Linked DNA regions of Homo sapiens: regions 2 and 3 are each linked to region 1. The links are contacts of gene promoters, found by promoter capture Hi-C in blood cells and fetal thymus (Javierre and others, 2016). All regions are on one chromosome and are shown on one strand. The core of a region is centred on a gene start or on the middle of the fragment in contact, and the rest is flanking DNA. Distances in the headings are between cores, read along the strand shown. Region 1 holds the start of TPRG1L (tumor protein p63 regulated 1 like). Region 2 overlaps MEGF6 (multiple EGF like domains 6). Region 3 overlaps MEGF6 (multiple EGF like domains 6).

Region 1 (2,770 bases), core at 170-2,669:
TCTACAGCTTAACTGACTGTAGTAATGTTTAGGTTCCTCACGTCAGAAAATTATCCTACAGCAAAAAGATCAACTCCTGAAAGCTGGTCATTAAATATTTCCAAATTTGTCTTTTAGTGGTATCTATAAATTACAACGGGACCCTCCATTTCTCTTTAAAAAATTAGCCAGAGCAAGACTTGATGTGTCATATGCAATCTGTCCCTGGCTGGAGAAAAATGCAGAGTTTGGACTTTTCCTGAAGAACATCCAAGTTCCTTTTTAACACGCTGGGCTCTACTTCAATGCATCCTGAACTCATGTAAGTCTTTTTACTACCAGCCTAATAGCTGCCTTCTGTGCCAGAATTCCTTTTAATGCACTCAATTGCCCAGAAGTCGCTTCTTTTTAAGGAACTTCCCATTGATATTTGGAGCTGGAGCCTTTGTGCTTATAATTAATGACAGAGAAGACACACCGCTTGGGGGGCTGATTTAAAAGGGCTGAATTGTAAGGTCCACTCTGGTGCTTAGGTCCAGTGATACTGGACTCTGAACAGGCTTACTTGTTGAGCGATTTAGGGGGAAACTGGAATTCTCCGTAGGAAATGGTGTCTACTGCGTTGAGCGCTATCCGCACCACCTGCTGGCACTGGAGACTGATGAAGTCGTATTTACAGATAAGCAGGGACTGCTCCGTGACCAGCACCAGCCGCTCCTTCTCATTGTTCCAGTGATCCACCCTGTAGGCAGAGGAGGGGCCTCAGTCCACACTGGACGCGGCTGTCTCGACTTAGCCAAGGCCAGCCCGCCTGGAAGGGCAGCAGGGGCGGCACGGGGCGCCTGAGCGTGGCACGAGCACCCCGGGAAGTCCTCGCAAGGTGCTGCGCGGCGGCTCGGGGCGAGTCCCCCCACCAAGGAGAGCGCAGCCCCGGCTTACTCGGTAAGCAGCCACACTCCCTGGATCTCGCCGTCCTCCACGGGCCGCACCACCACGCGGATCTCCTCCACTGCCTGCTCGATGCTGCCGGGCTGGGCGGGTTGCGGGGTGGGGGACGGGGGCAAAGATCACAGGTCACAGCTCGCTCCCTGCGGGACCGCCCGGCGCCCGCCTCCGACCCCACCCGCCCCCATCCCGCCCCGCGCCCTCGGCCCCCGCCCCGGCCCTGGCCCCTGCCTCACCCGGAACACGAAGTACTCCTTGACGCGGGCGCGGCGCGTGGGGTCGTGGATGCTGAGAGGCCAGAGTGTCTGGCGCAGCGGCGTCCCCGCCCCCGGCCGCCCCCCGCCCGGGCCGCCGCCTGCCCCCACCTCCTCGCCGGCCGCCAGCACCGCCGTGGGGCTCGTACCGGCCGAGTCCACCGAGTCCCGCAGTTGCAGCATTGCCGCACCCCTTACCGACCCCGACCCTGACGCCGACGCGACCGCCGTCGCCGCAGCCACCGCCACCACCCGGCCGCGCCCCCGGCCCCGCCCCGCGGACCGCCGCGATTGGCTCCGCCTTGCCGGCCCCGCCTCTGGCTCCGCCCCTTCCCGCGTCCGCCGACCCTCGGGATTGGCTCTCCTCCTGCCGTTTTCCGCGATTGGCTCTGCCCCGCCGCCGTTCACAATCGCTCCCGCCCCTCGCCGGGCCGGAAGCGACCGTCACGCGCAGGCTCACTTCCTGTTTACACAACGAGAAGGGGCGGGGCCGAAGCCGGTTGCCAGGGTGTCGCGGAGCGGCTGGGAAGGAGGGGCTGGGAATCTTGGAGCCCCTTGGCCCGCGGGGAAAGCGGGTGACCCGCCCTGCAAGTGGGATGCCCCCTTCGGCCTTCTGGAGCGCAGGTGGGGGCGCGCGCCCATCGGGGGCTCGCACTGCACGGAGGGTCGCGGTGCCGGGGAGCTGAGGTTGGAGGATGCAGGGCGGCGGCCCTGGTGCACCGTGGGGGAGTTCGCACGCCGGGCAGCGATCTTCTGCCGGGACCTGGCGTTCTTCACACACGGCTTATTCGTGACGGATCCACAGAGCAATGCACTCTGAAGCCGGAGGGTAGAAAGTGCTGGAATGCGCGCCCGGGCCCAGGCTGTCGCGAGCCTTCAGCAAGCCAGTGCACACAGAGAGGGCTGCCCAGAGATCCCGGTCAGCGCTCGCAGTTCGAGGTGGAACATGTGTGTGCCCTGCGCTAGCCCCAGCTCCCGGAGGTGCCCCCAGCGCGTGTGGAGGGGGGCGGTGAACGGACCCGCAATCTGGTGGAGGCTGCGGGAAGGAGGCGCAGAGTCCAGGGGTCAGGGTTACCTTCGGGCAGGAGGACAGATCCCTCTGCTCGGAGGTGAGGAAGACACACGAGGCGAGGTGCACACAGGCGAGGAGAGTGAGATGGGGGGAGAATGAGGAGTTCAGGATACATCTGTTTACTTCAGTCAGGGAGTGGGGATGGAGCGGAGTATTTGTAAAGATGGACGGTTTAGAATCGCCGGGATGAGAACCGGGCAGGGAGCTGATCAGGGAAGGGCATGGGGATCTCTGAGCAGCTGGGAGACCCCAGGGAAGTTTGCAGTGGCGCCTCCCACGCGGCAGCTGGGGGAGTGGAAGAAACCAATGCTGGCTGGTCTAGATGGAGGAGTTTGCTGGGTAGCGGTGGTCAAAGACCAGAGAGAAAAGGGAGGCCAAAATCCTAGAGGGAGTGTTGCCCAAGAATGGTGGAGTGCAGGGATTCTGCCCCACTTGCCAGCAGACAGGCCAGGCTGCCAAAGTTGCATGGGCGCTGGCAGAAAGACCCAATACCCCTGGAGTCAGAGAGGAAAGACTACAA
Region 2 (2,770 bases), core at 271-2,770, 120 kb after region 1:
CCTGGGCAGGGGGCTCTGTGCAGAGCCATTCATTCATCCATTTGTTAATTCCTTTGATAAACATCCCCTGACTGTCCACTCTATGCCACGCACTGTTCCAGGCAGTAAGGATTCCCTGGGAACAAGCAAGTTAAAGTGTTTGTCCTTCCTAAATATCAGTCTTCACGGTCCAGCAACAAGCAAGCCAGCAAATAACTAAGACAGTGAGGGGTGTCTGCTGAAGGGCAGCCGGCAGGTGGGGTTCCTCTAGCTCAGATGGCCAGGGACCCGTCATAACTGTCAGTGAGGCTCTGCCTGTTTGAAAGAGCTGGTTCAGAAGGAGGAGACTCCTCTCTCTGCTGGTGTTCAGAGAGAGGAGTCAGTGATCAATTAGTGATGTCTGCCATGAGCATGGGCAGGGGTGATGTGGTACAAGTGCCATCATTTTATCTCTAGGCAACTGCTTCTAAACCCAAGCCTCCAACCCTAGGAAGGGGTCTCAGAGTGTCGTGCTGGCTGGTGACCCTGACGCTTCCCTGTCATTCTTTGTAGCTTGTCCTCCGGACACCTTTGGGAAGAACTGCAGCTTCTCCTGCAGCTGTCAGAATGGTGGGACCTGCGACTCTGTCACGGGGGCCTGCCGCTGCCCCCCGGGTGTCAGTGGAACTAACTGTGAGGATGGTGCGTGCAGCCTCTTCTGGTGCTTCTGGAATTACCCCTGGGCTGTAAGGGAAGTGGGAGACACCACCCCTCCACGTCCTCCTTGTCTCCTTCCTCCCACTGGAGCAGGGAAACTGCTACCAAACTTTTCCTAGACTCCCTTTCCTTCCTGCCTCCCTGTCTCCAGAGCTTTAGGCTGTGCTTGAGAGAGAATGAGGCCCTTGAATGAGAGGGGTATTGCTTTTTCACTGTTGCTAATTTTCCCAGGGCCTAACTGTAGCAGACGATAAGACTACAGAGCAGCACTTTTGGAATGGGTTCCCTTGAGAGGCAGTGAGGTCCCTGTTCCTGGAAGCATTCAAGTAGAGCTGGTGATGGCTGGGTGAGGTTTGCAGAAGGGATTACTTGGGGGCCAGTGGCTGCAAGGGATGATGTTGGCTCCCTTATTAACTCTGAAGTTTCAGCCTTTCTGGAGGAATTAGTCCAGAAAATGTTTCCCAGGTGGCTAAAGCTTCATCTTTAAGTCTTCAGACTTCATCATTTCTGCCTCTTTCGATGGAGAGTGCAGCTAACGTATCATAAACTTTCTGCCTTTGTGAGAGGAAGACAGCCAACCCTAGAACCTGTCCCCCAGGTGGCCCCGTGAGCTTTCCTGGCCGTATGTGCTGGGCTCTGCAGGGCTGGTTGCCTGGTGGTGGTGGGGACCCCAGGCAGCCACACAGGGCTTCCTACCTCTTCCCTGTCAGTGTGCCTCCCTTCCCCACTTTGTCTGCCCTTTCTATTCTACAGGGTGCTGGGGAACCCCCGTATTCATTCCTGGGTGCTGCACCCCTGGGATCGTGCTGTACCCTCCAGGCTGCCTGCAGCGTTGAGGGGTCACCTCCCCTTCTCCAGGCCTCCTCTTTCTGTCTCGGCTTCCGCCTGCCTCTCAGATGAGGATGTTTGTCTTTGGATTCAGGGCCAGCCTGGATAATGTAGGGCTACTATGGCAAGCACTGTTGCAAGAAATGCAACTGTGCCTAGTCTCCAGGTCCTGGGGACTAGGACGTGTATGTAGTTGTGGGGGTACCTTCAGCTGACTACCGCCTTCAGTAGGAGGAAGGACGTGGGGCAGGACCCAGCCAGAGAGAATTGTTTGGGGAAGAAAGGCGAGGACCTTTCTAGCTCTGGGGCCACCTGCGGCTTGGGCCTGGGACCTTGTCTACTGGGGCCACGTGTCCTTCCCGCTTTGAGGCTCTGAGATCAAGCTTAGTGACCACCAGGGGACAGAAGTCAGGCGGCTCCTGATGGGGGCCAGACTTTGGGGAGAGTGGGGCGTGAGCTTTGTGCATCTCTCCAGTGTGGGCCGAGGAATGTGCTCTTCCACCCGCCCTTGCCACAAACCCTGGGGGCAGGGGATGTAGGGGACAGACCAGCCAGGGCAGACGGCCACATCCGGAAGGCTCACCTAGTGCCCTGGCGGGGGCTGCTCCCAGCTCCTGTGCTGGGCCCTGGGCCCCCGCGCATCCTACCACATGGGGGGACCACATGTGGTAGGCTGGCTGCCACCAAGGTTCACATGGAGCCCCGCTGCCCCCAGGCTGCCCCAAGGGCTACTATGGCAAGCACTGTCGCAAGAAATGCAACTGTGCCAACCGGGGCCGGTGCCACCGCCTCTACGGGGCCTGCCTCTGCGACCCAGGGCTCTACGGCCGCTTCTGCCACCTCAGTGAGTCTCACTGCCCCTTCCAGTGTCCATGGTGGTGGCAGCGGGTGGAAGGGATGGTCCATGTCCTGTTACCTGTAGTCTGGGTTAGGATGAGGCTATCGGGGCCCAGCCAGGTCACCCACTGGGATGTAGGTCTGGGGTCCGCCATGAGTCTGTGGACTCCAAGCCACATCCTCTCGACTGTGACTGTGCTGGCATCCAGGGCGTCTGGGTGGATGGTCCCCAACCTTGTGCCTCCCAGCCTTGATGGGTGGTAGGGCTGCAGATGAGGGCAGGGCCAGGCCTTTTGCAGAAGCCTCCGGGGGATGAGGCCTATCTTGGCTTTTGGAGATTCCTGGCAGCAAGGCCAAGCTCTGAGTCCCTGGTGGGGTCACCCATCCCTGGGGTTCAGACACTCAGGGAAGGGGCGGTGGGCTGCAGGGG
Region 3 (2,770 bases), core at 74-2,573, 100 kb after region 1:
AAGGGTCCTGCGAGGTGTCTGTGGCCTTGGACTGCTGCTCTGCCCCCTTGGCTGGTCCCCAGGCTGTGGAAGTCCAGGCAGCGCAGATGCGGGGAGAGGCCTCAGGACCAGGCTGCTCTCGACCCCTTCCTGCTCTCCTACTCCCCTCTACCGCCTTTGAGTGGGGCATCAGCTAAGTCTGGAACCTGAGGACACGTGGTTCTAAACCAAGCTGGCCCTTGGGCAGGGAGGGTCTGACGGGGTCTGGGCTGCTCTGGGATGGCGGGTGGCACTTCATGGGGGAGGGTGCCGGCACAGCGAAGGCTTCTGTCCTGGGATATGGTGGCCTTCTGGGTCCTTGCACGGGGAGCCTGTGGGTGTGGGGGGCCCAGGCTGACCCCAGCTGCATTGGTTTCCCAGGGCTGCTGGAACAAACACCGCAAACGGGGTGGCTACAAACTATAGAAGTTTCTTCTGTCGCCATCTGGAGGCCAGGATTCTGAACCCAAGGTGTCCGCGGGGCCACGCTCCCTATGAACCCATAGAGAGGACCTTCCTGGCCTCTTCCTTCTGGCCGTCCTTAGCCCGTAGCCTCGTCACCACAATCTGCCTGGTCTCCACATGGCCCTCTCTGTGTGTCTCTTGTTGGGATAGGCGCATTGGATTTAGGGCTCACCCTCATCCGGAACAATCTCATCTCGAGCCTGAACTTAGGACAGCTGCCAAGACCCTGTTTCCAGACAAGGCCTCACTGGAAGGCTCCAGATGGCCATGAACTGCGGGGACACTCTTGAAGCCAGCACGCCCTCCCCTTTCTCAGGCTTCCCCCCACAGCCTGGGCATGGCCGTCTCAAAAGCTGTCAGTTTCTCTTTTTGGGCTTGTGGGTCCTGGTGGAGCGGTTGACACCGCCCAGGAAGCACTTTGTAGATTTGGACTTAAGAAAACCGCGTGCGCTCCCGGTTCAGTCTTGAAAGGCGCTAGAGGCCCAGCCTGTCCTTGGAGCCCTCTGCTACTCCCCACCTTCTGGCCGGCCCTCGAGGCGGTGGCTCTTCCTTCTCGAGCAGGTGTCCAAGGTGGAAGCACAGACCCTGTCTCTTCTGCTGCGTCTCCGGCAGATGTGGGTGAGGGGCTCATGGGTGGTGCCCTCGAGGCACGGGAGGGACCTGGGTCTGGGCCCCCGGCACCTGGGGGGCTGTGTTGGCAAAGCAGGAGGGCACAGGTGCCCAGCTGCTGATCCTTCCCCATTCCTGCTCAGATGTGGACGAATGCCGAACCCACAACGGTGGCTGCCAGCACCGGTGCGTGAACACCCCAGGCTCCTACCTCTGTGAGTGCAAGCCCGGCTTCCGGCTCCACACTGACAGCAGGACCTGCCTGGGTGAGTGTCGCCTGGAGACCCTGCCTGGGCTCCTGGCTTCAGCCATCCCTACCCTCTGGGGTGTGCCCAGGCCTGGCCTGAGAGGGTGGCTGTGGACATGGAGAGGCAGAGGCCGCTCTGGCAGTGGCTCCTTCCTGCGGAGCATGGCTCTATGGAATCCTGCCCGCACCTTGCCCCAGGCTCAGGCCGGTAAAAGGACTGAATGCCAAGTTGCCAGGTCCCCAGGACCCTGGCTGCAGACCCTCTGCAGCCACACTAAGCCCCGCTGTGATGCTGAGGCCCCTCCCAGTGGACAGGGGAGTGAGCCCGTGGGTGGAGATCCTATTAAAGATTCTCTACAACAGAAGCTGCCGTGGTTATCAGCAGGGACCTGGCCTGGTTGTGATGTCCCCTACATTTGATTTGAGGGAGACCTGGGTCACGTGCTACGTGGTGGGGGACGCTGGCCGAGGAGGCCTGGTCAGGGCAGGGGCTGCGTGAGGACACCCTTCGCCCGCAGAGCCAGGCTTTGTGGGCCCAGGTGATCCCTGCCCAGCTTGGGGAGCCTGGAGGGTGTGGGCTGTGGCAGGTAGGGTAGGGGTGACGAAGAAGCGGGACCCTGTCCCTCAGCTTCCTCTGCGGGGTCTCTTGGCTATTGGAATGGGCTGGAGGAGGTGTCGCGGACACGGACTGTGGCCGCAGGGAGGGAGGGTTAGAGGGAAGCAGGGGAGGTGCCAGGCCTCTAGGAACCGGCACAGGGCTGAGCAGGGGGCTGGAGCCCAGGAATCTGGGGTGAAGAGTAAGTAGCCAGTCAGCCACCCTCACCCTTCGGCACCCCTGCTCCTGGCTGGCTCTGGGCACAGGCGCCCCAAGCAAGGACGGGACTGACCCTCTTGCTGGTCTCTGTCTGGGAGGCATGGGGGGTCATTCTCTGGGTGATGGGCGTCAGGACGCCCCTTCTTCCTGCCTTGGAGGCCCGGAGCAGGGCCCAAGCCGGCTCTGAGCAGCCTCCCTCCCGGTCCTGCCTGTGATGTGGCAGAGCAGCTCGCCAGCCCTGGGGCCCCCCCCCCGGCACACACTCACATGTCCCGGCCACCATGGGGATCCAGGCAGCCGCTCTGTAAAGTTTCCCTGGGTCTGAAAGTAGAAACAGATGCAGGAATGTTGTGATGTGCTTCCGGACAACGGAGACGGGGGTGCGGCCCCAGCCCGCTGCCCTGCGGGGCTTCTGGGAGCCTGGGGCACTTTAGCCTTGCACCCCCTGGTCCCCTCAGGCCCCCTGGAAGAGGCAGCTCTTGGGGGGCACGTCCTTTTCTCGACCCTCCTCTCAGGCAGGGTATTCCTTGTAGAAGGGCAGCCCAGGTGTCAGCCCAGTGGGGCCTCTCCTGGCCTCTAATCCCTTCTCCTGGCCTCCTACTGTGAGTGGGGGGGCC

Evidence for each region. The method cuts DNA at HindIII sites, captures the fragments that hold promoters and counts their contacts. A CHiCAGO score of 5 or more calls a contact.
Region 2: a contact is called between a fragment that was not itself captured here and the fragment with the promoter of TPRG1L in region 1, in 13 of 17 cell types (neutrophils, naive CD4 T cells, naive CD8 T cells and 10 more). The highest score is 12.7, in neutrophils.
Region 3: a contact is called between a fragment that was not itself captured here and the fragment with the promoter of TPRG1L in region 1, in 3 of 17 cell types (neutrophils, naive CD4 T cells and non-activated CD4 T cells). The highest score is 11.4, in neutrophils.

What each region holds. Positions count from the first base shown.
Region 1 is chr1:3,623,664-3,626,433 of GRCh38, reverse strand. It overlaps TPRG1L (tumor protein p63 regulated 1 like), which reads right to left and starts at 1,419. Exons shown (of 5, transcript NM_182752.4): 1 at 1,161-1,419; 2 at 919-1,010; 3 at 545-721. The coding sequence starts at 1,361. It also overlaps a transcript of MEGF6 not described here. RefSeq lists enhancers at 383-1,045, 2,026-2,145 and a silencer at 1,346-1,575. The HindIII fragment of the contact is 13,719 bases long and covers 1-2,770 here.
Region 2 is chr1:3,505,685-3,508,454 of GRCh38, reverse strand. MEGF6 (multiple EGF like domains 6) reads left to right here. Exons shown (of 37, transcript NM_001409.4): 14 at 532-660; 15 at 2,219-2,347. Among named protein-coding and RNA genes, the nearest start is that of ARHGEF16, 52 kb to the right of the region's middle. The HindIII fragment of the contact is 736 bases long and covers 1,153-1,888 here.
Region 3 is chr1:3,522,712-3,525,481 of GRCh38, reverse strand. MEGF6 (multiple EGF like domains 6) reads left to right here. Exons shown (of 37, transcript NM_001409.4): 5 at 1,236-1,358. Among named protein-coding and RNA genes, the nearest start is that of MIR551A, 37 kb to the left of the region's middle. RefSeq lists an enhancer at 1,784-2,323. The HindIII fragment of the contact is 4,070 bases long and covers 1-2,770 here.